Linked DNA regions of Homo sapiens: all the other regions are linked to region 4. Evidence: promoter capture Hi-C in 16 types of primary human blood cells and fetal thymus (Javierre and others, 2016). All regions are on one chromosome and are shown on one strand. Each heading gives the region's core, a stretch centred on a gene start or on the middle of the fragment in contact. The rest is flanking DNA. Distances are from core to core; before and after follow the strand shown.

Region 1 (7,997 bases), core at 136-2,635, 260 kb after region 4:
GAGACTCTTGCCGCAGTCCCCTCAGCGGTAAGGCTTTTAGCGGTGTGAGCGCGCTGGTGCTGGATCAGGTTGGAGCTGACGCTGAAAGTCTTACCACACTAGGCACAGGCATAGGGCCGAAGCGATGGTCACACTCGGGGCAGGAGTACGGCTTTTCACCGGTGTGTACCCAGTGGTGCTTAACCAGATCAGAGCCACATCGGAAGCTTCTGCCATAACCCGGACAACGGTAAGGCTTGTCACCAGAGGGGCTGCCTTGGTGGTGAATGAAGCCGGGGAGGCAGGCTGTGGTCAGTCCACATTTCCGGCACTCGCAGGTTTTGGGGCTTGTAGACGGTTGCTCTTGGCAAAGGCTTCTTCCTCCCCAGGGCTAGAGCCTGACCATTTTCCGGGCGGGCAGCTGCCCCGACCACACCAGGAAGGGCTGCTCAGGCGGAGCCACCTCGCAATCCAGGGGTGACCTGGGGGCTCCCCGGGACGCGAATGTCCCGCTCCCCCGCCGCCCCGCCCCGTCCGGATTCTCCCTCGCCTCTTCTGGCGCGGCCGACTGCGCTGCGAGTGAAGAACTCCCCGTTTCCTAGATGCCAGCTCCTGAGCTCACGAGCACGTCCAGAGCGGAGGACACTCGGGACACCGGGGTCCAGCTCCGGAAACGGAAAATTCCACAAGCCCGTCACTCTAGGAAGCGGCAGCGAACGTTCTCGGTAGGTTTAACCCTCTTCTTCCTCTGACCGAGCGAGGGCTCCCCGTCTGCGGCGCGGTCAGGACCCCGCACTTTCGGCCCGGCTCGGGGTTCTCGGAGTCCGTCCCAAGGCCGGGCCGCACCACCGCTGGGGGGCAGCGAAGCGAGCCTAGAGGAGAAAAGGCGGTCCCCGCCGAGTGCACGCCGGGGGCGGGGCACGGCACGAAGGCTCCGTGGTCGGACTTCTGGGCTGTTCGGAGGCCCTGGCCCACCTGGAGGGCCCTGGAAGAGTTTCCAGCGCTTCCCGAGGTAGGCGTGAGAAGCTCGACGCGGACCACATCTCCCTCATGCACCGCCCGCACGTCCCAGGATGCGCTGCGATTAAGGTACTGCCGCGCCTCGTGTGCAAGGACAGACTTCCGGGGTCGAGAACTACAACTTCCGACTTGCATCACTGCGGTGGCGCTAAACAGCGTCAGCGAGGCGGTGCCCGACGATTTCCCTGTCTTCCAGTTCCGCTCCCTGGGATCAGCGGCGAGAAGCGGGGCGGAGTCTGAGGCCCGAGCCAAGATGGCGGCTGCGAAGCCAACCCTCACGGACTCGCTCTCGTTCTGCCTCGCGCAGCTCGCGGCGGCGGCCGGGGAGGCTCTGGGTGGGGAAAAGGACCCAGCGACCAACGAGACACCCCTGAGCCGCGCGCTCCTAGCCCTCCGCACGCGCCACATCAAGGCAGCGGGGGGAATCGAGCGCTTCCGGGCACGCGGCGGGCTCCGCCCCCTACTCGCGCTGCTACGGCGAGCGGCTGCAGCGGGTTCCGCCCCGTCCCAGGCAGGCCCCGGCTCCGCCCCCTCGTCGGCCGCGTCGGGAGCTTCTAGCCCCGCCCCCGCGTCGGGCCCCGCCCCCTCCGCTGTGTCGTCGTCTAGTCCTACGCCGCCAGTGCGCCTGCGCAAGACGCTGGACTTGGCGCTCAGCATCCTAGCCGATTGCTGTACGGAAGGGGCGTGCCGGACCGAAGTGCGCAGACTCGGAGGCATACTCCCTTTGGGTAAGTGCTCCGCCCCCGTTTCCTAGAAAGATTAGGTTTGCAACTCCCTTGCTCTCTAGACCCGGGCAGTCTGGAGTTCTTTGTGTCCTATCCCGGAATAACGTGCTTTGTGATGGCGCATCGCTCCTGTTTCTCAATCTGTTGTGCCCCGTGACGTCACTGCACTCTCTATAGATGAGAGAGAGCCCTCCCAGACCAGATAATTGTAGCCATTATCTAGGAATTGGTTGTTGAGGACTTCTTTCGAAGCTGGACTAGCGGAGGCCAAAGAGTTATTTGGTGATTTTTTCAGATGATTCTTACCGTCCAGTTATGATGTTCATAGCAGACATTCAGTGCCCAACTATGTGTCCGGCCCTGTGCAAGGTTCTGAAGCCCCACTGATGAGCTGGAAGGTGTAGTGGTTCAGAAAGGGAGATCTGCAAAAGTCACCTAACCCCTCCGAGGCTAGGATTCCTTGTAAAATGGGGCAATAATAGCTACCTAAAAAAATCAGAGTGGGGAGAAAACGAAGTACAAATATGGCACGAATATGCAAATATTCTAAGCATGATACGTATTTCAAGTTATTAAAAACTAGCATAAGCTGGGTGCAGTGGTACGCGCCTGTAGTTCCAGCTATTTGGGAGGCTGAGGCGGGAGGATCCCTTGAGCCTAGGAGGTTGAGGCTGCAGTGAACAATGACTGCCTGTGAATAGCCACTGCATTCCAGCCTGGGCAACGTAACAAGACCTCGTATCTTAGAAAACCAAACAAATCAGTAGTCGCTTAGGAAGCAGGAAAAAATAAATAAAAATAATTAAAACCAGCACAGTAAGAACAAATCCTAGCAAAACATAAGCTTTTCTGTTTACCAGCTAAATTGGTGCCTCCTAGTGGCAATGTGTGAAAGCAGTTTACATGTCACTACCTGCCTTCCACGAAATTATGCTAGTTTTGATGACATCTTAACTTTTCGGATAAAGGGAAGCATTAATATATTTAAAATTTACATAAAATGTATCTGGACCATATATGTTTGACAAGAGCTTTGGTTATTAAATAACCCCCATCATTCAGCTACTATTTTTCATCTTAAATATCTTCTGAATTTATCTGCTTCTCTCTCTTCCTACTTCCATTGTGTGCCCAGAGACTGGTATCTCTGTGCTGTGTGATGCCAGTAGCTGGGTTGGTTCAAGCTATTGTCTTTTCATGCTTGGACTATTATGACAGCCTTTTGACTCCCCCCTTCCTATTCTTTCCCCATAATGCATTCTCCCTATGGATGTCAGATTGTATCGTGTCACTCCCCTTCATAAAACCCTTGTGTGGCCCCCAGTGCCTTCACATTCAAGTCCTGACCCCTTGGCCTGACATTTGAAGCCTTTCACAGACACTGTATCTTACCTCTGGGCCTTTGGAAAGGCTGCTTCCAAACCTGAAATGCCTTCTCACACCCCCATCCACCGTGCTTCTGGCAAATACCTTCCTGTGTACCCCTCCAGACCCAGCCCGAGTGTTAGCCTCTTTCTTTTTATTTTTTTGAGATGGAGTCTTGCTCTGTCATCCAGGCTGGAGTGCAGTGACACGATCTCAGCTTACTGCAACCTCTGCCTCCTGGGTTCAAGCAATTCTCCTGCCACAGCCTCCCGGGTAGCTGGGATTACAGGCGTGTACCACCATGCCCAGATAATTTTTGTATTTTTAGTAGAGATGGGGTTTGGCCCCGTTGGCCAGGCTGGTCTTGAACTCCTGACCTCAAGTGACCCACCCACCTTGGTCCCCCAAAGTGCTAGGATTACAGGCTTGAGCCACGGTGCCCTGCCGACCATTAGCCTCTTCTGAAAGCCTTCCAGGCCCTCTCAGGCCACATTCTCCAGGTTATTGATGTGAGAGACAGTAAGGGGTAGAACCCTCACAAGCCCAAACTGTCGTTGCAGTGACCATTCTTCAGTGCATGAAGACAGACAGCATCCAGAACCGAACGGCCCGTGCCCTGGGGAACTTAGCCATGGAACCTGAGAGCTGTGGGGACATCCACTGTGCTGGTAAGAGGCTGTGAGGTTGGGGTCTGCTAGGGCTTGGGGCAGAAGAAAGGCTTGAGTGTCTGTCCTTGTTCACCCTCTGTGCTCCCCTTTCCTGCCCTCAGGTGCTGTTCCCCTGCTTGTGGAGAGCCTGACAGCCTGCCAGGACTCGCAGTGCCTACAGAGCGTGGTGCGTGCCCTCCGTAACCTGGCAGACTCACCCCAGCACCGCCTGGCCTTGGCACAGCAGGGAGCAGTGCGTCCGCTGGCCGAGCTCCTGGCCACTGCCCCAGATGCTGCACTGACCTTAGCCCTCGTCCGTGCCCTCCTGGAACTCAGCCGAGGCTGCTCCCGGGCCTGTGCTGAGCAGCTAAGTCTGGGTGGGGGATTGGGCCCACTCGTCAGCCTGGCTTCCCACCCCAAGCGGGCAGTACGCGAGGGAACCATTCTGATCCTCGCCAACCTGTGTGCCCAGGGCCTGATTCGGCCTGCACTGGGCAATGCTGGTGGCGTGGAGGTGCTGGTAGATGAGCTCCGGCAGCGCCGGGATCCTAATGGAGCTAGCCCAACCTCCCAGCAGCCCCTGGTGCGGGCTGTGTGCCTCCTATGTCGTGAGGCCATCAACCGGGCCCGACTGCGGGATGCTGGTGGCTTGGATCTACTGATGGGCCTGCTGCGGGACCCTCGTGCAAGCGCATGGCACCCTCGTATTGTGGCTGCCCTTGTGGGGTTTCTGTATGACACTGGGGCCCTGGGCCGGCTGCAGGCTCTGGGACTTGTGCCTCTCCTGGCTGGGCAGCTGTGTGGTGAGGCTGGTGAGGAGGAAGAAGAGGGAAGAGAAGCTGCTTCCTGGGACTTTCCTGAGGAGAGGACCCCTGAGCGGGCACAGGGTGGAAGCTTCCGGAGCCTCAGGTGAGTCCCTGCCTCAGGGCTTGGGAGGGTGAGCAGTGCAGTGATGTGGGGTTTGTGTCTGTCTTGGTCCTCTTCACTACCTCCACCCCTATTCTGTCTGAATAAGACTTTTATAACCCAGACTCCTGATTCCCACACGACCACCTGCCAGTTCCTATTTAACACACTCCACTCCCCTGAGTCTACCTTTTTTTTTTTCGAGACAGAGTCTCACTCTGTCACCTAGGCTGGAATGCAGTGGTGCCATCTCCACTCACTGCAACCTCTACCTCCTTGGTTCAAGCAGTTCTCCTGCCTCAGCCTCCCGAGTAGCTGGGATTACAGGTGCCGGCCACCACTCCCAGCTAATTTTTGTATTTTTAATAGAGACAAGGTTTCACCATGTTGGCCAGCCTGGTCTCGAACTCCTGACCTCAGGTGATCCACCCGCCTCAGCCTCCTAAAGTCCTGGGATTACAGGCATGAGCCACTGCACTGGCTGGATCTACCTTTTAACCTTGGTTCCACGCCAGCACCTTTGAACTTTGGGCCCCAGACAAGTTCACTGGGAGGTGGGATATACGCTGGTTAAGATGGTGGGCTCTGGAGTCCAAGTTCTTACTCTCTTACCATCACTCATGAGCTGAAGCATCACAGGAAAGCTGAGGAACTCTTTATTTTTTTTTAAACATTAGCGTTGGGGATCTCGCTTTGTTGCCCAGGCTGGTCTTGAACTCTTGGCTTCCAGTGACCCTCCTGGCTCAGCCTCCCAAAGTGTAGGGATTACAGATGTGAGCCACCATGCCCAGCCCCCAGCGCTTCCTATTTCCTTTTTATTTTCTCCATGACCCCTGTACTCTACACTAGCCCCACACTAACATAACTCATGGTACTCTTACTTCTTGTCTGCTTCTTCTCACTGGAACATAAACTCCAGGGGGACAGGCACTTTGTTCAGTGCTTCTACCCAGCACCTAAAGAACGGCTTGGCACGTGACAGGCATCAGTAATTACTGAATGAGGTTTTAGTCGTATCCCCCTCTCACTTCCGTTTCTCCCCTTTCTCCGCCCTCCTTCTCTCCCCTGGCTTTACCTCCCTCCAAGACAGCTTTTAGCTCATGCAGTGGCTCACGCCTGTAATCCTAGCACCTTGGGAGGCCAAGGCAGGAGGATCGCTTGAGCACAGGAGTCCGAGACCAGCCTGGGCAACATAGCGAGACCCATCTCTACAAAACATTTAAAAAATTAGCTGAGTGTGGTGCACACAGCTGTAGTGCCAGCTACTTGGGAGGCTGAGGTGGGAGGATCACTTGAGCTCAGGAGTTCAAGGCTGCAGTGAGCTAGGATCCCACAACTGCATTCCAGCCTGGGCTATAGAGGGATACCACATTTCTTTAAAAAAAAAAAAAAAAAAAAAAAAGACGCCTCACGCCTCTTGGACTCTGCCCCTTAACCTTGGCTCTGGGTTCAGTCTCCTTCCCTTTCTGCCCTCCGCAGGTCGTGGCTGATCTCCGAGGGCTATGCCACAGGCCCTGATGACATCTCCCCCGACTGGTCTCCTGAGCAGTGTCCGCCGGAGCCCATGGAGCCGGCCAGCCCCGCCCCGACCCCGACCTCGCTGCGGGCACCACGCACCCAACGCACTCCGGGCCGCAGCCCCGCCGCCGCCATCGAGGAGCCTTGGGGACGCGAAGGGCCAGCCCTGCTGCTGCTGTCGCGCTTTTCCCAGGCCCCTGACCCAAGTGGGGCACTTGTGACCGGCCCGGCGCTGTACGGCCTGCTGACCTATGTGACCGGCGCACCGGGCCCGCCCAGCCCACGTGCACTGCGCATTCTGTCACGCCTCACCTGCAACCCTGCCTGCCTCGAGGCCTTCGTGCGCAGCTATGGCGCGGCGCTGCTGCGGGCCTGGCTGGTGCTGGGGGTGGCGCCTGACGATTGGCCGGCACCACGTGCCCGGCCCACTCTCCACAGCCGGCACCGAGAGCTGGGTGAGTTCCCATACCCACCCGTCTCCTTGCCCCCATGTGAGTCCCCATCCTCCCCCATGGCTTCCATGGGCCCAGAACCTCACCTTCCCACTCACCTGTCCTCCCCAGCCCGTCCTCCAGACAACCTGTCACCAGAGTGGGGTGGGGAGCAGGGCGTTCCAGTCCCTCCATGGGCCCACAGGCAGAGTTCTGCTGTGTCCTCTGCCCTAGCCCTGGGACCCAGATACCCTAACTCTAGATGCAGCCCCGCGCCCAGGATCTGGGCTGGTCTGTGCTTCTTTCCTGGCTCTGCCATTGGTTCAGCACTGTCCTGACTGCTCCCCACCAGCACGCTGACCTGTGAACCCCAGCCTCACCATCACCCCCAGCACTGCCAGGGACTGCCCTGTCTGCTGTGCCCTGACCACAGGCTGCTTCATGGCGTTACTGCTAGACCAAGGAGCCCTTCTGCTGGCCCTGTCCGGGCATAACAGAAGGCTCGCACTCTTGTCTTCTGGTCACACCTCACTATGTCCCCTCAGCTCCTATCTCTGTATGGCCTGGTTTTTCCCAGGTTATGATTATAGAGCGAGGATTATTACAATATTGGGATAAAGAGTAATTACTACAAACTAATGATTAATGATATTCATATATCTCTAAGATCTATATCTGGTATAACTATTCTTGTTTTATATTGTATTATACTGGAACAGCTCGTGTCCTCCGTCTCTTGCCTCGGCGCCTGGGTGGCTTGCCGCCCACACTTCAGGGGCCCAGACTTACACCCTGACTGTCCCACCTTCTGTCCTTGTCCTGGACCTCAGGTTCCCAGCGTCCCGAGCCCAGCACTGTCTCTTCAGTGCCCTGATTTCTCACCCAGAGGTTTCACCCTCCTTCATCTCACGGGCCCAGAGCCCTGTCTCACTCACCCCACCTGTCTTAGACCCCAGTTCCCAGCCTGACAAGCTTTCCACTCACAGGGGAGAGGCTACTGCAGAACCTGACGGTTCAGGCTGAGTCGCCCTTTGGGGTTGGGGCCCTGACGCACCTGCTGCTCTCTGGGAGCCCTGAGGACCGAGTGGCCTGCGCGCTGACCCTGCCCTTCATCTGCCGGTGAGTGGGAAGTGGGTGCCTTGCGGGGTTGGGGGAGGAGTGCTGTGTTTCCCAGGCCCGTTGCCCACCTTTTGAAAGGCCCTCTCTTCCCTGTAGGAAGCCCTCTCTGTGGCGCCGGCTGCTTCTGGAGCAGGGTGGTCTCCGGCTCCTCCTTGCGGCGCTGACCCGGCCGGCCCCACACCCGCTCTTCCTCTTCTTTGCCGCGGACTCCCTTTCCTGCCTCCAAGACCTGGTGTCTCCCACTGTGAGCCCAGCTGTCCCACAGGCAGTCCCCATGGACCTAGACT
Region 2 (7,613 bases), core at 389-2,888, 440 kb before region 4:
GACCGCCTACAGCGCCGGGTGGAGGAACTCTGTCAGCGAGTGTACAGCCGAGGTGGGTTCTTTGTGCCCATACTGAAGGGGTGTCCATCCCCACCTGCATCTTGATGGCACCCCTTCCTGATTCCCCTAATGCCCGAGTCCAAGGGCGGCCAGAATTTCCCAAGGAATAAATCAGCCATGTTCTTGGAAGAGGTAGGTTAGGCTGTAGATGGGGGTTCCAACTTTGATTCCGGGATTGAATGCTAGAGAGATGGGTTGGAGGAGTTGTTGATGCCGGTAGAGGCTCCTGGCCAGAGGCCCCTCTGGAGCACTTGGTGTGGGTTGCGGATCCACAAGGCATAGCTTCAAGGGCTCAGGCCTTGTAGGTTGACAGGCTTCTCCCACCTTAGTTCTGCCACCCTCACCTGGACATGCTGGGAAAGTGGCTCCCCTCTCTGAGCTGGTTTCCTTCTCTGTGCAGTGGGGATAAAGACTCCTGGCTTTGTCATGAGAAATGGGCAAGACAGCTGGTGGATCACACTGGGTATATAGCAGACTCCAGAATGAGTTAGTTGTTTGCCCCATTGCCCTGAGCTGGGCTCTTACCTGGGCCCTGCCTTCCCAGGGGACAGTGAGCCCCTCAGTGAGGCGGCTCAGGCACACACCCGAGAGCTGGGCCGTGAGAACCGGCGACTGCAGGACTTGGCCACTCAGCTGCAGGAGAAACACCACCGCATCTCATTGGAGGTGAGGAGCCGGGGGCTTTGGGGGTGTGATTAGAATCAGGCAGGATTTGGGTTAGATGGGCACTCAGGGACCTCAGGAACCAAGTCCCCCATCCAAGCATCTGCTCCCTCATTGTTCCCAGTACTCCGAGCTCCAGGATAAAGTGACATCGGCAGAGACCAAGGTGCTGGAGATGGAGACAACAGTGGAGGACTTGCAGTGGGACATCGAGAAGCTGCGGAAGCGAGAGCAAAAGCTCAATAAGCACCTGGCAGAGGCCTTAGAGCAGGTGGGGCAGGGGTGCTGGGGCAGGTGAGGCAAGGCTGGGCCCTTGGGCCTTAGCTCCTCCCCTCTACATCCATTGCCTGTCTGTTTTCTCTCCACAGCTTAACTCTGGCTACTATGTATCTGGGAGCTCCTCAGGCTTCCAGGGGGGCCAGATCACACTCAGCATGCAGAAGGTGAGCGGCGTTTTCCTCCCACCCCTTCTCACAACCTCTTCTCTGTTGCACTCTTGAAATTCCCCTCAGGACAAAGGACAAACATCCATCTCTGAGGCCCTTCCTGGTCACTCCTGCTGCTCTTTTTTTCATGCATTCATATACTTGTTGAGTAGATTTTTGAACACTTAGTGCTAGGCACTAGGCATATTGGCGAGAACAAAATAGAGGTCAAAACTTTCATGGACCAGACAAGAAATAAATAAAAGAATATATCTTTAGGTTCTACTTGTGGTAACAGACAAGAAATCAGTAAAATAGCATATCAGTGTGTTATGAGTACCACAAAGATAAAGCACAGAAGAGAGAGCTAAGAGTGAGTTGGAGTCAGTTGGCATCTGGTGGTCACTGTGCCCTTTTTCCCTTTATTAGCACTTTAGGCCTTTCTGGAATGCCTTCCGTGACTCCCCATCAGTTAAGAGCCTTAGTTCCCAGCACCGACCATGCAGTATTGAATTTTCTCCCATTTTTCTGGGAGCCCTTAGGAAAGTACTTGGTTTGGGGTGTCAGAATCGATCATTGCCCTGCACGGGGTGCTTGGGGTGGAGTGTATGCTGGGGATGTAAGGGAGGCCTGCTGCCACGTCTGGCCCTGCCTCCCATGGCCCTGCCTCCCACTCCTTAGTTTGAGATGCTGAATGCAGAGTTAGAGGAAAACCAGGAACTGGCCAACAGCCGTATGGCAGAGCTGGAGAAACTGCAGGCCGAACTTCAGGGGGCTGTGCGGACCAATGAGCGCCTCAAGGTGGGCTGCTGTAGGGGCTGAGAGGTCCTGGGCCTGTAAGGGAGGGACTGAGCCCTGAATCCTGTTGCTGATCCCATTTGGGCATCCCTGCCCCAGGTGGCCCTGCGGAGCCTTCCTGAGGAGGTAGTGCGGGAGACGGGGGAGTACCGCATGCTGCAGGCCCAATTCTCACTGCTCTACAACGAGTCTCTGCAAGTGAAGACCCAGCTAGACGAGGCTCGGGGCCTGCTGCTGGCCACAAAGAACTCCCACCTGCGACACATCGAGCACATGGAGGTATGGCCCTGGAACAGGCGTTAGGGCTGGGCTAAGGGCCAAACCGTTAGTGTTGACGTGTTTGTGCCTTCCGAGGCCCTGTGTGCCAGCCAGGGGTCCCTGGGGAATAGATTCTTCCTAAGATACTGAGTCCTGAGGTGGGACCGAGGGGCTGTGTGGGTCCTTAACACATCAACCCACAGAGCGACGAGCTGGGGCTGCAGAAGAAGCTACGCACAGAGGTCATTCAGCTGGAGGACACGCTGGCCCAGGTACGCAAGGAGTATGAGATGCTGCGCATCGAGTTTGAGCAGAATCTGGCGGCCAACGAGCAGGCGGGTATGTGGTGAGGATAGGGCGGAGGTGGGGCCTTATCTGGGAGTGCTGGGCCCTGGTGTGGGGCTGCTGCTTATCCAGATGCAAGAGGCTAAGGCCTTTTTTTTCACAGAGCCTCGGCTTCCTATGCAAAACAGGGCCTGCACTGCTTGGCTCCCAGGCACAGTGAGGGTCCGCCAGCTGGGGTGGCTGATGGAGCAGGCACATGCAGAGTCTGAGCTGTCAGCCCTGTCCTCATTCTTCTGGTCTGATGACGTCTCTGTCTCTCAGATACTTGTGTTACAAAGATTTATCAAATGCCACCTCTGAGCCAGGCTCTGTTCTAGGGTTTGGGGTTATGCCAGTGAACAAAACAGAATTCCTGCCATGTGGAGCAACATTCTGATAGAAGACAGACTAGAGGAAGACGAACTAGTAGAAGAAAAATGGAAAATGTGTTAGCTCTTGACAGATAGGAAAGTAAAGCAGAAAAGGAAGATAGGAAGTATCAGGAGAAAGGGTGTTGCAATTTTGAATAGGAGGCCAGGGAAATGTACTGGGAAGGTGATATTTAAGAATCTAGAAGAAGTTAACTAACTTTTGTGAATGTTACAGTTACCTTCTCTATTAAAGGGAATTGGATGTATAAAAAAAAAAAAGAAAAAACCTAGGCCAGGTGTGGTGATTCATGTCTGTAATCCCAGCACTTTCGGAGGCCAAGGTGGGAGGATCACTTGAGGCCAGGAATTTGAGACCAGCCAGGGCAACAAAGTGAGACACTGTTTCTATTTAAAAAAAAAACAAAAAACCCCACATATTCTATATTAGCAAAAATCGTATGAATAGGCAGTGTCAAGTTAATTTTGGGTGAGTTTCCTTGAAGTCAGCATTATTTACTTTGATGAGTTCATGCTCCGTTGAGGCCGCAATGTTCCCCTCCTGCACAGTGGGAGTGATGGCATAGCCTCTTACCCCACTGAGGGGTTGGAGTCCTAACCCAGGAACTGGTTCTGACACCTTTACTTGCTGATGCTCCTCCAGGGCCCATCAACCGTGAGATGCGCCACCTGATTAGTAGTCTTCAAAACCACAACCACCAGCTAAAAGGGGACGCCCAGCGATACAAGCGGAAGCTTCGAGAAGTACAAGCTGAGATTGGCAAGGTGAGAAGGGGCCTGCCTGGGAAAAGGTTTGGCTAGACTCCAGTGAACACCATCTGACTTCATCCCTCTTCCTCTCTGCCTTTGCAGCTCCGGGCCCAGGCCAGTGGCTCTGCCCACTCCACCCCCAACCTGGGCCACCCAGAGGATTCTGGCGTCAGTGCCCCAGCCCCAGGGAAAGAGGAGGGTGGGCCAGGCCCTGTCAGTACCCCCGACAACAGAAAGGAGATGGCTCCAGTGCCTGGCACCACCACTACTACCACTTCAGTGAAGAAGGAGGAGCTGGTCCCCTCTGAAGAGGACTTCCAGGGTATAACCCCTGGGGCCCAGGGCCCTTCCTCCCGGGGCCGAGAACCTGAGGCCAGGCCCAAGCGGGAGCTTCGGGAACGGGAAGGTCCCAGCCTAGGACCTCCACCTGTAGCCTCCGCTCTCTCAAGGGCTGATCGGGAGAAGGCCAAGGTGGAAGAAACCAAGCGGAAGGAATCAGAACTCCTCAAGGGTCTCCGAGCAGAGCTCAAGTGAGGCTCTGTTCCTGTCTCCTTCCTGACCCTGCCAGGTGGCCTCCAGTCCCACTCACTAAGACTTCCTCCTGTACCTTCTTGCCAGGAAGGCCCAGGAGAGCCAGAAGGAGATGAAACTGCTGCTGGATATGTACAAGTCAGCGCCCAAGGAGCAGCGGGATAAGGTGCAGCTCATGGCAGCGGAACGCAAGGCTAAGGCCGAGGTGAGGGCAGCTGGGGCTTGTGGGGCATTCAGAAAGGCAGAGCAGAGTCCTAGCTCAGCAGGAAGCAGTGTCAAGAGAGTTTCTTCTTCCCTGTGCTATAGGTTGATGAGCTGCGGAGCCGCATCCGGGAATTGGAGGAGAGGGATCGAAGGGAGAGCAAGAAGATCGCGGATGAGGATGCCCTGCGGCGCATTCGGCAGGCAGAGGAGCAGATAGAACACCTGCAGCGCAAGCTGGGTGCCACCAAGCAGGTGCGGCCCATGTGGTGCCCTCGCGTCGGAGCGCAGGGAGTTCCCTTCATACCCTGTTTGGTGCCTCTAGTGCCTGCAGGACCTTGATGATCTGGGTCCCCTCTGTAGTTCTTTGCTTCGCTGCGTTTTCCCATGGTTCCCCCACAGCCATCCTGTCCACTTCCCACGTTCCATCTTGTCTCTGCCCACTTGCTGCAGGAGGAGGAGGCTCTGCTCTCAGAGATGGATGTGACAGGTCAGGCTTTTGAGGACATGCAGGAACAGAACGGGCGGCTGCTACAGCAGTTGCGGGAAAAGGATGATGCCAACTTTAAGCTAATGTCAGAGCGGATCAAGGCCAACCAGATTCACAAGCTGCTGCGGGAGGAGAAGGATGAGTTGGGCGAGCAGGTCCTTGGCCTCAAGTCCCAGGTATGGCCGCCGCCAGCTTGCAGACTGGAGCTGGAGAGGTGGGGGTCATGGCCCTGAGTCCTCCTCTGGTCCTTAGGTGGATGCCCAGCTGCTGACTGTGCAGAAGCTAGAGGAGAAGGAGCGAGCCTTGCAGGGCAGCCTCGGGGGTGTGGAGAAGGAGCTGACGCTGCGCAGCCAAGCCCTGGAGCTCAACAAGCGGAAGGTGAGGCTGGGCCAGGGGGACACACAGCTTGGGCTGCTGGCTCACCTCCTCACCTTCCGGTTCTGCTCAGAGCACCCGATGCAATAGCCTGAGGTGAAGCCAGGCTGTCACAGAACAGCTCACACATATTGAACATTTACATGTGCCAGACCACATGCTGAGTACTTGACATGCTTGGTCACATTTCAGTCTCACTAATCCTATCAAGATGGTGTTTACGGGCGTGGTGGCTCACGTCTGTGATCCCAACACTTTGGGAAACAGAGGCGGGAGGTTTGCTTGAGGCCAGGAGTTGGAGACCAGCCTGGGCAACATAGTGAGACCCCATCTCTACAAAAAAATTTTAAAATTAGCTGGGTGTGCTGGTGCACGCCTGTAGTCCCAGCTTCTCGAGCAGGCTGACAGGTGAGAGGATCACTTGAACCCAGGAGGTTGAGGCTGCAGTGAGCTATGATCGCACTGCACTGCAGTCTGGGTGACAAGAGCGAGACTCTGTCCCTAGGGAAAAAAAACAAAAGATTTTTGAGTTGGAGTCTTGTTCTGTCGCCCGGGCTGGAGTGCAGTGGTGCGATCTCGGCTCACTGCAACCTCCGCCTCCCAGGTTCAAGCAACTCTCCCAACCTCAGCCTCTCAAGTAGCTGGGATTACAGGCGCGCACCACCACGCCTGGCTAATTTTTGTATTTTTTTTTAGTAGAGACAGGGTTTCGCCATGTTGACCAGGCTGGTATCGAACTCCTGACCTTGTGATCCACCCACATTGGCCTCCCAAAGTGCTGGGGTTACAGCGTGAGCCACTGCACCTGGCTGGATTTTGTTTTTAGCCTCGTTTTATAAATAAGGAAACTGAGGCTCAGGGAGGTGGATTGTTCTGCTCAAGAGGGAGTGGCCCTAATATTTGGGTCCAAGCCTCCTTGACTCCAGGCTCTACCTTCTAACCACTCGCTGGTGAACTGTAAAGTGGGGATGATGTTCTTTGTCACATAGTTGTATTAAATAGAAGAAATGTCTAGCTTTGGCTAAAGGCTTAAGATTAACATTGATTTCCATTTCCTCTGAAGCTGTTTTCTTCTCCAGTTAGTTCATTCATTTAAGCAGTATGTTTGTGGTTTTTTTGTTGTTGTTTTTTTTAGACGGAGTCTAGCTCTGTTGCCCAGGCTGGAGTACAGTGGCTCGGTCTCAGTTCACTGCAACCTCCGCCTCCCAGGTTCAAGCGATTCTTCTGCCTTAGTGTCCCGAGTAGCTGGGACTACAGGAGCCTGCCACCTCGCCCAGCTAATTTTTGTATTTTTAGTAGAGACGGGGTTTCACTGTGTTTGCCAGGCTGGTCTCAAACTCCTGACATCGTGATTTGCCCGCCTTGGCCTCCCAAAGTGTTGGGATTACAAGTGTGAGCCACTGTGCTTGGCCCATTTAAGCAGCATATTTTACATCCCTGCTATGTACTAGGCCTTGCGCTGATTGCTGTGGAGACATTGGGAACAAGAAGGTCCCTGCCTTCCAGTCAAAGCTGGAACTTCAGGTCTTGGCAGGCAGAGCAGGCCAGTAATCCCCCAAATAAAATAGTGCATGTCACAGTAAGCCTTGTGCAGGAATCTGAGGTGCTGTCAAAGAAAAATAGGGGAGCCTTTTAGGAGGTGACACTTGAGCTGAGGCCCAGGGGAGCTGCATGTGTGGTGGGGAAGTTGAGGGGAGCAGAGAGGAGAGCCTTGTGAAAGCTCAAAAACCAGACAGCAGGCCAGGCGTGGTGGCTCACGACTGTAATCCCAGCACTTTGGGAGGCCGAGGCGGGCAGATCATGAGGTCAGGAGATCTAGACCATCCTGGCTAACACGGTGAAACCCCATCTCTACTAAAAATACAAAAAATTAGCTGGGTGTGGTGGTGGGCGCCTATAGTCCCAGCTACTCGGGAGGCTGAGGCAGGAGAATGGTGTGAACCCAGGAGTCGGAGGTTGCAGTGAGCTGAGATCGTGTCACTGGACTCCAGCGTGGGGGACAGAGTAAGACTCCGTCTCAAAAAAACAAAAAACAAAGAAACCCCAAAAAACAGCATCACACGGGAGGAACTGGAGAGGGAGAACAGGAGGGGAGGGCTTAGGGCTCAGGAGGCAGGAGCAGCTCCAGGGCAGGTGTCACTGGGGCCCTGGACAGAAGCATTGGTGGGCCGTGACTCCACATGCCTGAGTCACCAGGCTCAGACCAGTGCCTCCTTCCTGTTCCACCCTACTCAGGCTGTAGAAGCCGCCCAGCTGGCCGAGGACCTGAAGGTGCAGCTGGAGCACGTGCAGACTCGGCTGCGGGAGATCCAGCCCTGCCTGGCAGAGAGCCGGGCTGCTCGTGAGAAA
Region 3 (6,965 bases), core at 807-3,306, 260 kb before region 4:
CGCCATTCTCCTGCCTCAGCCTCCTGAGTAGCTGGGACTACAGGCGCCTGCCACCACGCCCGGCTAATCTTTTGTATTTTTAGCAGATACGAGGTTTCACCGTATTAGCCAGGATGGTCTCCATCTCCTGATCTCGTGATCCGCCTGCCTCGGCCTCCCAAAGTGCTGGGATTACAGGCGTGAGCCACTGCGCCTGGCCACTATTGGGTGCTTTTTCTAACACTTCTCTGATACTTATCTCCCTGTTTAACAAAAGTAGTCTTCAGGTAGTAGCCTAAAGCCACAGCAACACCTGGCTAGGATTTAATAACTCTGGTCTTTTTTGTGTTTTATTTATTTATTTATTTATTTTTGAGACAGAGTCTCGCTCTGTCACCCAGGCTGGAGTGCAGTGGCGCAATCTCGGCTTACTGCAAGCTCCGCCTCCCAGGTTCATGCCATTCTCCTGCCTTAGCCTCCCAAGTAGCTGGGACTACAGGTGCCCGCCACCACGCCCGGCTAATTTTTTGTATTTTTAGTAGAGATGGGGTTTCACCGTGTTAGCCAGGATGGTCTCAATCTCCTGACCTCGTGATCTGTCCACCTTGGCCTCCCAAAGTGCTGGGATTACACCACACTTGGACTTTTGTGTTTATTTTTAAGATTAACATATTTATGTGAAACAATACTGGGGTTTTTTTTTTTGTTTTTTTTTTGAGACGGAGTCTCGCTCTGTCGCCCAGGCTGGAGTGCAGTGGCACGATCTCGGCTCACTGCAAGCTCCACCTCCCAGATTCACGCCATTCTCCTGCCTCAGCCTCCCGAGTATCTGGGACTACAGGCGCCCTCCACCACGCCCAGCTAATTTTTTGTATTTTTTTTTTAGTAGAGACGGGGTTTCACTGTGTTAGCCTGGATGGTCTTGATCTCCTGACCTAGTGATCCACCCACCTCGGCCTCCCAAAGTGCTGGGATTACACGCATGAGCCACCGCGCCCGGCAACAATACTGGTTTTAAGTGCAAAGAGGAGATGATTCAAAGATAAATCATGTTACGCAGATAAGTGAACAGCAAATACTGGAGCTTGGGAATCACTGCCCCAGCCCAGGGCTTCTACAAGGAAAAGCCTTTCAGAGTCATGAGGGCAGGGAGGGAGGCAAGAGAAAGCTTCCCTTGGGAGGCCAAGGGAAGGATCGCTTGAGCTCAGGAGTTCAAAACCAGCCTGGACAACCTTGTCTCTACTAAAAATAAAAAAATAGGCCAGGCACAGTGGCTCACGCCTGTAATCCCAGCACTATGGGAGGCCAAAGTGGGCAGATCACCTGAGGTCAGGATTTCGAGACCAGCCTGGCCAACATGGAGAAACCCTATCTCTACTAAAAATACAAAAAATTAGCCGGGCGTGGTGGCGCATGCCTGTAATCCCAGCTACTCTGGAGGCTGAGGCGGGAGAATCGCTTGAACTTGGGAGATGGTGGTTTCAGTGAGCCAAGATCACACCATTGCACTCCAGCCTGGGCAACAAGAGCGAAACTCTGTCTCAAAAAAAAAAAAAAAGTCAGGTGTGGTGGCATGTGCCTGTAGTCCCAGCTACTCAGGAGGCTGAGGTAGGAGGATGGCTTGAGCCCAGGAGTTTAAGGTTGCAGTGAGCTGTGATCGCAGTACTGCACCCCAGCCTGGGTGACTAAGCAAGACACTGTCTCAAGAAAAAAAAAAAAAAGCTTCCTGGGCCTGCTGCTTCTGACACAGTCTATTGAGTCTCAGAGGCATTTCTGGACATGCCTTTGAGAACTACTGAACTCAGAGAAGAGAGTTCTCAAACTGAGTCCAAAGGAACTTCAGTGTACTACAAAATGTTACTAGATTACCTTGGGAGAGGTGGGGAAGGATTCCTGGGGAAGTACGTTTGAGAGGCCCTTCTCCAGTTCACTGCATGTTTTTTGTTTGTTTGTTTGTTTGTTTGTTTTTGAGATGGAGTCTCTCACTGTTGCCCCAGCTGGTGTGCAGTGGTGCGATCTCGGCTCGCTGCAATCTCCGCCTCCCGGGTTCAAGTAATTCTCCTGCCTCAGCCTCCCGAGTAGCTAGGATTACAGGCGCCCGCCACCATGCCCAGCTAATTTTTTGTACTTTTAGTAGAGACAGGGTTTCACTAGTAGAACAGCCAGGCTGTTCTCGAATTCCTGACCTCATGATCCACCCACCTCGGCCTCCCAAAGTGCTGGGATTACAGGTGTGAGCCACTGCACCCAGCCCACTGCATGTTAGATAGTCTGTTGAGGCCTGTGGAGTGCTCGGGTTAGGAAACCTGTTTAATGTTGCTTAGGACTCGTTCATCTTTGTAGCTTCAATACTTGGGACCTATAACGCTTTCTATAATCAGAGTGAATAAATGAAATGCTGTAGATGAGGAGGTGGGGGAGAGTGGTCAGTGGAAGCTTTAAGTAGTTACTAGCTTGATTCATTCATTACAAATGGGCAGCTGGGTGCAGTAGCTCATGCCTGTAATCCCAGTGTTTTGGGAGGCCAAGGCAGGAGGATCGCTTGAGGCCAGGAGATCAAGACCAGCCTAGGCAACATAGTGAGACCCTGTCTCTACAAAAAAATTGTTTAAAAATTAGCCAGGCGTGGTGACATGTGCCTGTGGTCCCAGCTACTCAGGAGGCTGAGGTGGGAGGATTGCTTGAGCCCAGTAGGTTGAGGCTGCGGTGAGCCTGAGTCCAGCCTGGGTTACAGAGTGAGACCCTGTCTCAAAAAAAATTTTTTTTCAAAAAGTGGAAAACGCAAATCTGCCCTTGTGGAATTTACATTGTAGTTGGAGGAACACAGTAATGTAATAGGGAAGATATTAGGGCTGTAAGTCCAGCTGCGGGCAGCTGGCTGTCAAGATGGGACAGGTGTGGATCAGAAGCAGAGATGAGTAAAGGAGGCAAGGACCCATGAGCACCAGAACTCAGTCAGGAATCAAGAAGCCCAAGGGTGGCTGGAGACGACTGGATAACACCAGTCCCCTTGGCATGACATCAGGCAGCATGCGTGGCATTTGTGTATGTGTTGGGCAGCACACTTTCTATGCTGGGAGGCCCACAGCTGGGATGAGCCCATGTGACCTGACAGCTGCCCTGTGGGCAGGCAGAGTGGGGGGGCTATTGCCTTCAATCATAAACGAGGCTTCTGAGGCTCAGGGAGAGGAACAGACTTGCCCAGGGTCTCATTTCCAGTTAGTGATGGAGTTGGGTTCCAATCCCAGTGCTCTTGGCTGAGGTCAGGTGCTTCTTGCTACCCTGTTGTCTGTGTGGCCAGAAGAGAGCTGGGGTGCACCCTTGGAGCTGGGGAGCCTGGGAACTGTGGGCTGCTGAGAGCTGAGGGCTGAGGTCTCTGTCTCCCCCCTATGGCCGCCAGGTGCTATGACAAGCGTCTGTGGCCTCGAATGGACCTGAGCCGGCGGAAGTCACTGACCCCGCCCATGCTCAGTGGTGTGGTTCGCCGCCAGCCCCGTGCCCTGGACCTCAGCTGGACAGGTGTCTCCAAGAAGCAGCTCATGTGGCTTCTGAACCGACTACAAGGTAGGGTGTGTGGTACGGAGGACAGGGTGGGGACAGGGACAGGCCTGGGATGGAGTCCTCACAGCACCTGCTTCCTGACTGCCCCCTCTCCGCAGGCCTGCAGGAGCTGGTGCTCTCTGGCTGCTCCTGGCTCTCTGTCTCTGCCCTGGGCTCAGCCCCACTGCCAGCCCTGCGGCTCCTGGACCTCCGCTGGATCGAGGATGTTAAAGACTCCCAGCTCCGGGAGTTGCTGCTGCCTCCACCAGACACCAAACCAGGTGCAACCTCTGTTTGCTTTTCTGGAGAATGGGCTGGGCAAGGGTAGGGTAGGAGGCCTCTCAGGTCTCTTCTGACTCATGCTGGATGGTAAAGTATTTGAAGAAAGGAAAGAATACATGAGTTTGAATAGGAAGGCCCTGGTTGGGCATTATTCATTCATTCACCCACCTGCTGTGTACTTTGAACTGAGTCTTGAAAGGAACAGGGTTTTCCCAGGGAGTGTGAGACTCAGCAGTTTGGTGGGGCAGGAGGCCCATATTGGCAGAGGGGGATGCTGGGAGCAGAGGCCATCTCTCTTCATCTACTTAAATCTCATCATCCTTTAGGCCTGGGTATAAATGCCACTTCCTCCAAGAAGCTCTCCCTGATCCCACCCCACATTGAGCTCAGAGTCCCTCTCAGCTTTGAGAGCAGCCCGCCAGCATAATACTGGGCAATTGTGGAGTGCCTTGATGCACATCTGTGCCCTCCTGCCAGGGTCTCCAGCTCCCTGAGGGCAAGCGCTGGCTGGTCCCCCAGCACGTTCTCAGTGGCTGCTCCATAGATAGCTGTTGAATGAATAACTTGAATGAGCAATCAGGATGGGAGAGGTCTAGTTTGAGGAAAGATTTTCAAAAGGAGATTTGCAGTCCCCTGAAATAAGATAATCCTTTTGTTTGTTTTTGTTTTTTGAGACCATCTGGCTCTGTCACCCAGACTGGAGTGCAGTGGCAAGATCTCGGCTTACTGCAACTTATGCCTCCTGGGTTCAAGTGATCCTCCCCACCTCAGCCTCCTGAGTAGCTGGGCCTACAGGCGTGTGCCACCACGCCTGGCTAATTTTTTTGTAATTTTTTTTTTTTTTTTTTTTTTTTTGAGGTGAAGTCTTGCTCTGTCGCCCAGGCTGGAGTGCAGTGGTGCTATCTCGGATCACTGCAAGCTCCACCTCCCGGGTTCACGCCATTCTCCTGCCTCAGCCTCCCAAGTAGCTGGGACTACAGGCGCCCGCCACCACGCCTGGCTAATTTTTTGTATTTTTAGTAGAGACGGGGTTTCACTGTGTTAGCCAGGATGGTCTTGATCTCCTGACCTCATGATCCGCCTGCCTCGGCCTCCCAAAGTGCTGGGATTACAGGTGTTAGCCACCGCACCCGGCCTGTAATTCTTATAGAAACAGGGTTTCATCATGTTGTCCAGGCCGATCTCGAACTCCTTGTCTCAAGTGATCTGCCCACCTCTGCCTTCCAAAGTGTTGGGATTATAGGCGTGAGCCACCACACCTGGCCAAAAGAATCTTTTCTTTTGGAGTTCTTTCACCCCTCTCTTTCATAGTTCCCTTCTTCCCACCATGCCCCCTCCACAACAGCCCTGAAAGGGGAGAATAGAGAAGCAACTAAGATTCTTCCCGTATTCTAGATGAGGCACTGGAGGCCCAGAGGGATTGACTGCTGCAGGTCACCCAGTCAGGCCAGAGCACTCAGCCATTGTCCACTCTTACCAGAATTGGACTGAGTTGGAGAGCTATGGGTGGGGGGTAAGGTGGGCATTGGGAATGGTGCATCCTGGGAGGTGAGAAAGTGCTGGCTGGTCCATTTCCTCCTGCTGGAATTCAGTTCAGTTCAGCCCTTTATCAGGAGCTCAGGAAGGTGGGCCTTTTTTTTTTTTTTTTTTTTTTTTTTTAGTTTTTAAATTTTTTTTTTAACTTTTAAGTTCATGGGTATATGTGCAGGTTTGTTAAATGGGTAAACTTGTGTCATGGGGGTTTGTTGTACCGATTATTTCATCACCCAGGTATTAAGTCTATTTACCATTAGTTATTTCTCCTGATCCTCTCCCTCCTCCCTCTGAAAGGCTCCAGGGTGTGTTGTTCCCATGGATGTGTCCATGTGTTCTCATCATTTAGCTCCCATTTCTAAGTGAGAACATGCAATTTCTGTTCCTGCATTAGTTTGCTAAGGATAATGGCCTCCAGCTCCTTCCATGTTCCTGTAAAGGACATGATCTTGTTCTTTTTTATGGCTGCATAGTATTCCATGGTGTATATGTACCACATTTTCTTTATTCATTCTTTCATTGATGGGCATTGAGGTTGATTCCATGGCTTTTACTATTGTGAACAGTGCCATACACCTTCAAACTCTTGCCCAGCTTAAATGCCACCACCTCAGTGAAATCCTCACTGATGCCTACTCCTCCCTGCCCAAGCCAGAAGTGACTTCTCTTTCCTCTGCTTTCCTCTATGGGCCTTTCCTCCTTGTGCCTTTAGCTGTGGCCCAAGGTTGAGGGCATCTGTAAAGGTATCCCCTCTCCAGGCGCTTGGCTCCTCAAAGACAGGAGGAGGGGTTAAAATTTAGGGCTTGCAAAGTCAAGTGCCCATAGAGTTGGCCTGGGAGGTAACAGAAGTGATGCATTGGTGTAGGACATTAGGGAGTGGCACCTAGCCACCCAGCTCCCCTCAGTCATCATCTGGTGGGAAGGAGTGCCTAGTGAGGCCACATCTTACGATTCTTCAAGGAAAAGCTCAGTATGTAAATTTATTTATAAAAATGTCCTTTTTGTAGTGTTAGTCATTAAGGAAGTTTTTAGCATTCTGTAGACTCCATAAAACATGTTTGGAGGGCAGCCTCATGGTTTGTGCCATCTGATCTATTAATAGTTTATCTTAGGGATAGGCTGGTGCCTGGGAGGCAGACAACACTGTGGTAAGAGTTCAGATTCAGCATCACCAGGCCTGGGTTTCCTGGCTGTAAACAGGAATGATGATCAGAGATCTTGTCTCCCAAGGCTGTGGTTCTTAAAGTGTGGTCGGGGGACCAGCAGCATCCACAAAACTGGAGAACTTGTTAAAAAAGTAAACTCTGGGCCGGGCATGGTGGCTCACACCTGTAATCCTAGCACTTTGGGAGGCCGAGGTGGGCAGATCACTTGAGGTCAGGAGTTTGAGACCAGCCTGGCCAACATGGTGAAACCCCATCTCTACTAAAAAAATACAAAAAATTAGCCAGGCGTGGTGGCAAATGCTTTTAATCCCAACTACTTGGGAGGCTGTGGCAAGGAGATTGCTTGAACCTGGGAGGTGGAAGTTGCAGTGAGCCGAGATTGCACCACTGTACTCCATCCTGGGTTACAGAGTGAGACTCCATCTCAAAAAAAAAAAAAAAAAAGTAAACTCTGGTCAGGTGCGG
Region 4 (7,310 bases), core at 3,474-5,973:
TATTTTTTTGAGACAGGGTCTTGCTCTGTGGCCCAAGCTGGAGTGCAGTAGCATGATCACAGCTCACTGCAACCTCCAATTCCTGGGCTCAAGTAATTCTCCCACCTCAGCCACGGTGGCTCGGACTACAGGCATGAACCACCATGTCCAGCTAATTTTAAAAATTATTTTGTGGAGATGAGGTCTCACTGTGTTGTTCAGGCTGGTCTTAAACTCTTGAGCTCAAGCAATCCTCTCTGCTCGGCGTCCCTAAGTGCTAGGATTATATTTCTATATAAAATGCTGGCTAGGAGCTAAGGAAAAGGAAGACAGGGCCCTGCGTGTGGGTTTTTGTAATTAGCAGAGGCCCAGTCAACACTGGCTTCTGTTCTGTTTTTTTTTTTTTAAGTCTTGTGAAGCTTAAATGGGAGGTTTGAGCAAAAAAGAGGATGCTGTCCTCTTTGTGGGATTTTTGCTGGTGTGGGGAGATCTGGACCATCATGGAGGGAGTTCTCAGCACAGGGATGGGATTTGGTTCCTGCAGGGCCTCAGAGAAGCATGGGAAAGCCCTTCAGGTGTTAGGGGAAGGTGATTTTGAGTTGTTCCTTCACTTTGTTGAATGTCTCTGAAATCCAGTTCTGGGGCTTGGCAGGAATGTTGCCGCTTGCAGTGGCTGCCGTTCAGCTTATCTGGGATGTGTCCCAAGATGCTGGAGTTGTCTGGGGCCATCCAGACTGGGGCTGGGATTTCCACACCCATGGAGCCACGACTAGGACTGGGAGTGACAGAACGAGTTTGGGGGTGCTGCCAGAGGGGCACTCTAGATTGTTCTTGGGATAGCACAGGTTCCCAGATACAGTTCTAAGCCATTGAGGGGCTAGGAGCAGAATCGTCTTAGTGGAGGTGATTGCTAACTCTGAGGTGTACTTGCCATGAGCCAGTTGCTGTTAGGGGATGAGCTGATTCCTGTCACTCCCACTTTAGAGGGGATGCTGACACAGCTAGTGAGAGGTGGGGCAGGGACTTGAACCTCTATTCTTTAGCTATAGAACTTCTGTCCTTAACCACTATGCTATGCCTAAAATCTGAGGAGACTTCTGGTAGGACTCTTTCTCCCACAGCCCAAAGGAAAAAGGAAGCCCCAAGAAATGTTTTATCTTAGGGAAACTTTCTTGGAACCACTTCCTTCCCTCAGGCCTGCACTGGTTTTTGTAGTGACTCTAAGGATGTCTGTCATGCAAGGATGTGTTACCTATGGCCCCATGTCAGGAGAATGATTAGGTTCCTGTGAAGTTTAAAAAAAATCCTGTTAGATACTAGAGATACACAGTAACTGCCATATATTACTTTCTACATGCAAGGCACTTGTACAGAGGTTGAAAAGATGTCTCCATTTAAGCGTCCATTTAAGCAGGGGAGTGGTGGAGTCTTCTGTGAAGGTAGACCAGCACATGGTTTGCATTGCCACAGAGACACTGGGAAGAGCCTCTGAAACCCAGAGGAACGCATGCGTATGGGCAGTCTGGGGCAGGTAGAAGATGTCAAGGTGTCCAGAGATAAAGGGGTCAGCATGTGCAAGGGCACCTGGTATGAGCAGATAGTGGTGGGATCGTGGGTATGTGAGGAGAGGAGAGGTTGCATGGGGTTAAGTGCCAGGTTAGGAGGAGAGTTTAGGTGTCCTGTTAAAAATGACAGTCAGCTGGGCATGGTGGTATGCACCTGTAGTCCCGGCTATTCAGGAGGCTGAGGCTGGAGGATTGCTTGAGCCCAGGGGTTTGAGGCTGCAGTGAACCATGATCACACCACTGCACACCAGCCAGAGCAACAGATGAGATCCCGTCTCAAAAAAAGTGAGAGTCTGTTCCCATGATCAGTTTGGATTTCTCAGGCTCTTGGAGCTAGAGGCAGGGAGGACAAGGTAGGAGGTGTGTTGCAGATAAGATGTAATTAGAGATAAGCCTGGTGGGGCAGTGAGGTTGGAAAGTGGTTGTTTGGTGATTCCTAAGGATAGGATTCAGGGTCTCCTTGGTATCTGCCCATTGCTTTGCAAATCCTCCCTCTTCAAGGCCAGAAAGGATTGCTTGTAAAGTGTACTTAGGAAGTAGCCCTAGATTCCTGCTTTCCCAAACAGCCTCTGGAAAGACCTCAAGTTTCCTGGAGAGAGATACTCATATTTCCCTTTGTAGGCAAAAATTGCATCAAGAAGGTGGGCCCGGTGGCTCACACCTGTAATCCCAGCACTTTGGGCGGCTGAGGTGGATGGATCACTGGAGGTCAGGTGTTTGAGACCAGCCTGGGCAACGTGGCAAAATCCCGTTTCTACTAAAAATGCGAAAATTAACCGGGTGGGGTGGCAAGCACCTGTAATTCCAGTTACTTGACTGGCTGAGCCACAAGAATTGCTTGAACCTGGGAGGCAGAGGTTGCGGTGAGCTGAGATCATGCTACTGCACTCCAGCCTGGGTGACAGAGTGAGCCTCCGTCTCAAAAAAAAAAAAAGAAAAAAGTGGCCGGGTGCATTGGCTCACGCCTGTAATTCCAGCACCCCAGCACTTTGGGAGGTGGAGGCGGGTGGACCACTTGAGGTCCGAAGTTCCAGACCAGCCTGGCTGACATGGTGAAACTTTGTTTCTACTAAAAACACAAAAACTAGCCAGGTGTGGTGGCAGGGGCCTGTAATCCCAGCTATTCGGGAGGCTGAGGCACAAGAATAGCTTGAACCTGGGAGGTGGAGGTTGCAGTGAGCTGAGGTCACGCCACTGCACTCCAGTCTGGGTGACACAGCGAGATTCCATCTCAAAAAAAAAGTTTTAAATGTTCCTTTCAAATGAATGAATAAGTAATAACCCTCCAAAAAAATCGCATCAAGAAAAGAGGCAGCTACCACACACAACTCATTTCCTGAAAATCTGCTTTGGTGGTTGGCATGTTTTTTGAGCAAAGTGCAACCTATGACCCTTTCCCCCACGGGATGGGGTGGGGCAGAGGGAGCCTTTAAGCCTGTTAAGAGCCAGCACCAGAAGGAGCCCTCGAGCAATTTGGTGACTTGTGCTCTTCTGTCCTATGTTTAGATAATGCTCTAATGTGTCTCCCCCTGCAAATTTCTCTAATTCTGCATTTTTCTCCAGTGGAAAATGTGGAAGGTAGGGGAGCTATGAAGACTAGTGTGTTTCTAAATGGCTTGGACAGAGCTGCCCACCAGTTTGCGCCCTTTGGTACATGCCTCTTTTAACCTTCGGACCTGGGTCACAGGCTGTTATCTATAATGGTAAGGTTAGACCCTTTAGGGAGCACTGGAGGAGCACCACCTGGTGAATGAGGAGGGATATTCCATGGCGATACCAGGAAGGATGGGGGAAGCATTTGGGGTGCCAGAGACCCTAGGGACATGGAGCTGGAGGCTGGGTGGCCTCTGAAGCATAGCTGAGCTCTGCACATGCCAGCAGGCTAGAAGCAGGAAAACACACAAGTTCAAGCTGGCTTTTCGTATATTGTGTATAAAAAGATCAGATTCAGGATGATTTGGTGGGATTGCCAGGGGCTGACCGGAGTGTTGCTGGGAAGGAGCCTCAGCTCCGCTCCAGGTCCTCCACCAGGTAGGACTGGGACTCCCTTAGGGCCTGGAGGAGCAAGTCCTTGCAGGTCCAGTTCCAGGCTGGTGTGAAACTGAAGAGCTTCCGCATCTTGCTTGGGTTGGTGGGCTCGGCCCGCACTGCCTGGTACTGCTCATCCGTCAGGACCTTCCCGTACAGAGCATCCAGCAGCCACTCAACGTTTGTGACCCTCGCGATAAGCGCAGCCCGGTGCTGGTCTATAAAGTGCAGGCCTGGGGGTGGGAGGAGAACATGAGCCAGCAGCCAGGGTGTGGGGCCTGTCCCTGCTGAACTTGAGTTCTTCAGGAATTCCTCTGCAAGCCTAGGGGCAGGGCTCCAGGGGGCGGCCACCAGGACCCCACATGCAGTGGGATGAGGGTAATATTGTCTCCCTTCCCCCGCAGGGTGTGGGTTGGTGGGTGGGGTGCGCAGGGTTGCCAAGCCGTGCCTGCCCTGCCCTGCCCTGCCCTGGTTGCGGGAGCACAGATGCAGGCTGTGCAGGAGTGCGGTGGGGCCGGGCTGGGTGTGGAGGCCTCACCTGGCTTGGCTGCCGACTGAGGAGGGGCCTGGATCCCAGCTGGCGCGGCTCCAGAGCCTGGAAGGATATGGGCCAAGTGATCCCCTTCCCTTCCCTTCCCGCCGTGGGGCCGGGGTCCCGTTGGTCGGTAGGCCAAGCGTGGGGAGCCTCCTTTCCGGTAGAGCAGCTTTGTTTAGGGGTAGGAGGAACAGAAAGCGGAAGAGCCCGCGGGGTAAGCGCTGGTGTGGGTGGAGGGGAAAGACGGGGTGGAGGGGAACGGGGGCGGCTCACCCTGGTGCGTGGCCGCCTGCAGCTGCCCGGCCATCTCCTGCAGGCCCATGTCGCGCAGCACGTTAGCGGTGAGCTCGGCGCCGTAGGTCTCCAGGTAGAAGCTGACCAGCTTGTCGGTGAGGTCCAAGGCGTCCATGGACAGCAGCGCGCCCCGCGGGATGCGCCCGTAGCCCTCGCGCAGCGGCACCGACAGCAGCTTCAGCTTGAACTTCTTGAGCTCCTCGGCGGTCAGGTTCTCCAGCGCATCCAGGATGGCGTCGCGCGCGCGCCCCATGGCTCCAGGATCCCCGGCCGCTGCCGCCGCTCACCCCGCTGCAGCCGCCGACCAGGAGGAAGTCGGCTCCGGGGCGGAACCTGGACTCCCCGCCTTCCTCCCACTCTGGTCTCCCGACTCCCCGCCCCGGTCCGTTGCCCTCCAGCAAAAGGCGCTTCCTTACTACACCCTTGGTCCCCTCCCACCCAGGCCTCTGGATTGGGGCCCCAGGCCGTCGGGGGACGCCAGGATCGCGCCCTCCAGCTGGCCTGCGAGGTGGGACCCGGGAGGGGGCCGCAGAGGGGCTCATGGGTGGCGCCTGCTTGTCTCTGGGCTTGCACCAGCGGGTACAGACCGGAAACCTGGGCTGGCTCTCACTGGGTTTATTGGAGCACCTAGGCTTAGAACCTCGGATTTCTAGAACCCCGAAACCTCCGCGGTTCCCCGAACCTTAGGATCCTCTCCCACATGTCGTAGAATCTTGGAATCATGACAGCTAGAAGCGTGAAGCTCCCTCAATTCCACATACTGGGGAAAAATGAGTTGTACAAAAGGGCAGAGAGTGCAAATCTCTCTGAGCTTCAGTTTCATTTTCTACGACATGGGGATAACCCTCCGGTGCTTATAAATATTCCAGCATAACATGGCCAACCCGATGGCTCCCGAAACCTTGCCAGATGCTTCCTAGGGGAGCCAGAATTTGATCCCAACACTGATTAAAAAAAAGAAAAAAGAAAGAGAGACAGCCTCCAGGAGATTAAAGACCATGAACTTGAAGCCATACAGTTCTTTGTTTGAATCCTGACTCTACTTCCCAAGGGGGATATTTGGAATCCTTTATTTTTCCCTCTCATCTGGGTTGTAACAATCACTGTTCCTTGTAGTCATACGACCCTGACATATTATACGTTTATATGCTTATTGGACATTCATCCCTCTCTAAAATGTGAGGCCTATGAGCATCGGAGACCTTAACTGTCTTATTCTTTGCTGAATTCCTAGCGTCAAGAATGTACCTGGAAATAGCTGTGTGTGGTGGAGGGCGCCTGTAATCCTAGCTACTAGGGCGGCTGAGGCATGAGAATCGCTTGAACCTCGGAGGCAGAGGCTACAGTGAGCCAAGATTGCACCACTGCACTCCAGCCTGGGTGACAGAGCTAGATTCCATCTGAAAAAAAAAAATGTATCTGGAACACATTAGGTGCTGAGTAAAGATTTGCTGAGTGAAGGAATGAATGAGGCTGTGATGCCTGCAGCATGTTGTATTCAAAAGCTTCCAGCATGGCTGGGTGCAGTGGCTCATCACGCATGTCATCTCAGTGCTTTGGGAGGCTGAGGCCGGAGGGTCACTTGAGCCCAGGAGGTTGAGGGTGCAGTGAGCTATGATTGTGCCACTGCACTCTGTGCCACTCGGCAACAGACACCTTGTCTCAAAAACAAACAAGACAACCAGGATGGGCCGGGCACGGTGACTCATGCCTGTAATCCCAGCATTTTGGGAGGGCGAGGTGGGTGATCAGGAGTTTGAGACCAGCCTGGCCAACAGAGTGAAACCCCATCTCTACTAAAAATACAAAAATTAGCCGGGCGTGGTGGCAGGTGCCTGTAATCCCAGCTACTGGGGAGGCTGAGGCAGGAGAATCGCCTGAACCCGTGAGGTGGAGGTTGCAGTGAGCTGAGATCACACCATTGCACTTCAGCCTGGGCAACAAGAGCGAAACTCCATCTCAAAACAGGAACAAAAACAAACAAACAAAAACCACGATGGGGAGCAGTGCTCTGCTACCCTGCTGAAAGCCTTTTTGTTGTTGTTGTTGTTGTTGTTTGTTTTTTCTTTTGAAGACAGGACCTCACTCTGTTGCCCAGGCTGGAGTACACCGGAGGGATTGTGGCTCACTGCAGCCTTGAACTCCTGGGCTCAAGCAATTCTCTCACCTCGGCCTCCTGAGTACCTGCGACTACAGTTGTGCCACCATGCCTGGCTAGTTTTTAAAATTTTTATAGAGAATGGGTTTCCCTATGTTGTTCAGGCTGGTCTCAAAGTCCTGGGCTCAGCAGTCCTCCTGCCTTGGCCTCCCAACATGCTAGGATTACAGGTGTGAGCCACTGTGCCTGGCCTTGCTCCCCATCCTTGTAGCATGTGGGCTGGGGTAAGCTGTGTGCCAACATCCTCACCATGGGTGGCACTTGTGGTCCAACAGCCAGTGTTCCTTGGCTCATGGATGTTTATCATGCCTTCTCACTGGCCTTTATCCTTCCAGAATCTCCATTTCCTTTTGTGCACTGTGGCCAGAAGGATACATCTTCCTAACCCACACATATGATCCTGCACCTGCCTGGCTCAGAGACCCCCTCATGACTCCCCAGTGCCCTCAAACTCAAGTCCCAAGCCCTTGGCTTGGCCTTCAAGGTCCTTGCCAACCTCTTCAGCTGCCCCTTCCAGCTTGCTGATCCGTGAACCTCCGCCCCTGTGGGAGCTGCTCTCTGCTTGGCCTCTTTTTCCTCCTGGTCTACTTGGTGAGTTCCTGCCTGTCTTCTGACGTTCATCAGGCATCACTTTTTCTTTTCTGCTTTTATTTTAGAGATGAGGTCTCACTCTGTTGCCCAAGCTGGAGTGCAGTGCGCAATCATAGCTCATTGTAGCCTCGAACTCCTGGGTTCCAGCGATCCTCCCACC

Evidence for each region. Contacts are between HindIII fragments. The CHiCAGO score rates a contact against its expected background, and 5 or more counts as called.
Region 1: a contact is called between a fragment that was not itself captured here and the fragment with the promoter of PYCARD in region 4, in 17 of 17 cell types (M0 macrophages, endothelial precursors, M1 macrophages and 14 more). The highest score is 29.9, in M0 macrophages.
Region 2: a contact is called between a fragment that was not itself captured here and the fragment with the promoter of PYCARD in region 4, in 1 of 17 cell types (total CD8 T cells). The highest score is 6.0, in total CD8 T cells.
Region 3: a contact is called between a fragment that was not itself captured here and the fragment with the promoter of PYCARD in region 4, in 7 of 17 cell types (monocytes, M0 macrophages, M1 macrophages and 4 more). The highest score is 9.0, in monocytes.

The regions. Positions count from the first base shown.
Region 1 is chr16:31,458,273-31,466,269 of GRCh38, forward strand. It overlaps ARMC5 (armadillo repeat containing 5), which reads left to right and starts at 1,229. Exons shown (of 6, transcript NM_001105247.2): 1 at 1,229-1,727; 2 at 3,650-3,757; 3 at 3,859-4,645; 4 at 6,122-6,615; 5 at 7,578-7,710; 6 at 7,807-7,997. The coding sequence starts at 1,253. RefSeq lists enhancers at 359-899, 898-1,237 and a silencer at 1,428-1,777. The HindIII fragment of the contact is 2,362 bases long and covers 205-2,566 here.
Region 2 is chr16:30,764,334-30,771,946 of GRCh38, forward strand. It overlaps RNF40 (ring finger protein 40), which reads left to right. Exons shown (of 20, transcript NM_014771.4): 5 at 1-52; 6 at 605-726; 7 at 848-994; 8 at 1,092-1,166; 9 at 1,830-1,949; 10 at 2,046-2,225; 11 at 2,408-2,543; 12 at 3,561-3,682; 13 at 3,770-4,197; 14 at 4,286-4,403; 15 at 4,505-4,654; 16 at 4,853-5,065; 17 at 5,142-5,267; 18 at 7,500-7,613. Among named protein-coding and RNA genes, the nearest start is that of RNF40, 5.8 kb to the left of the region's middle. RefSeq lists an enhancer at 1-445 and a silencer at 4,914-5,110. The HindIII fragment of the contact is 4,024 bases long and covers 1-3,650 here.
Region 3 is chr16:30,938,737-30,945,701 of GRCh38, forward strand. It overlaps FBXL19 (F-box and leucine rich repeat protein 19), which reads left to right. Exons shown (of 11, transcript NM_001382779.1): 8 at 3,380-3,543; 9 at 3,639-3,800. Among named protein-coding and RNA genes, the nearest start is that of ORAI3, 6.8 kb to the right of the region's middle. RefSeq lists a silencer at 3,274-3,403 and an enhancer at 3,828-4,770. The HindIII fragment of the contact is 714 bases long and covers 1,700-2,413 here.
Region 4 is chr16:31,198,037-31,205,346 of GRCh38, forward strand. It overlaps PYCARD (PYD and CARD domain containing), which reads right to left and starts at 4,724. Exons shown (of 3, transcript NM_013258.5): 1 at 4,381-4,724; 2 at 4,111-4,167; 3 at 3,450-3,805. The coding sequence starts at 4,654. The coding sequence ends at 3,549. It overlaps PYCARD-AS1 (PYCARD antisense RNA 1), which reads left to right and starts at 3,849. Exons shown (of 2, transcript NR_102400.1): 1 at 3,849-3,950; 2 at 4,424-5,416. RefSeq lists enhancers at 3,555-4,185, 4,375-4,604 and a silencer at 4,715-5,074. The HindIII fragment of the contact is 5,508 bases long and covers 397-5,904 here.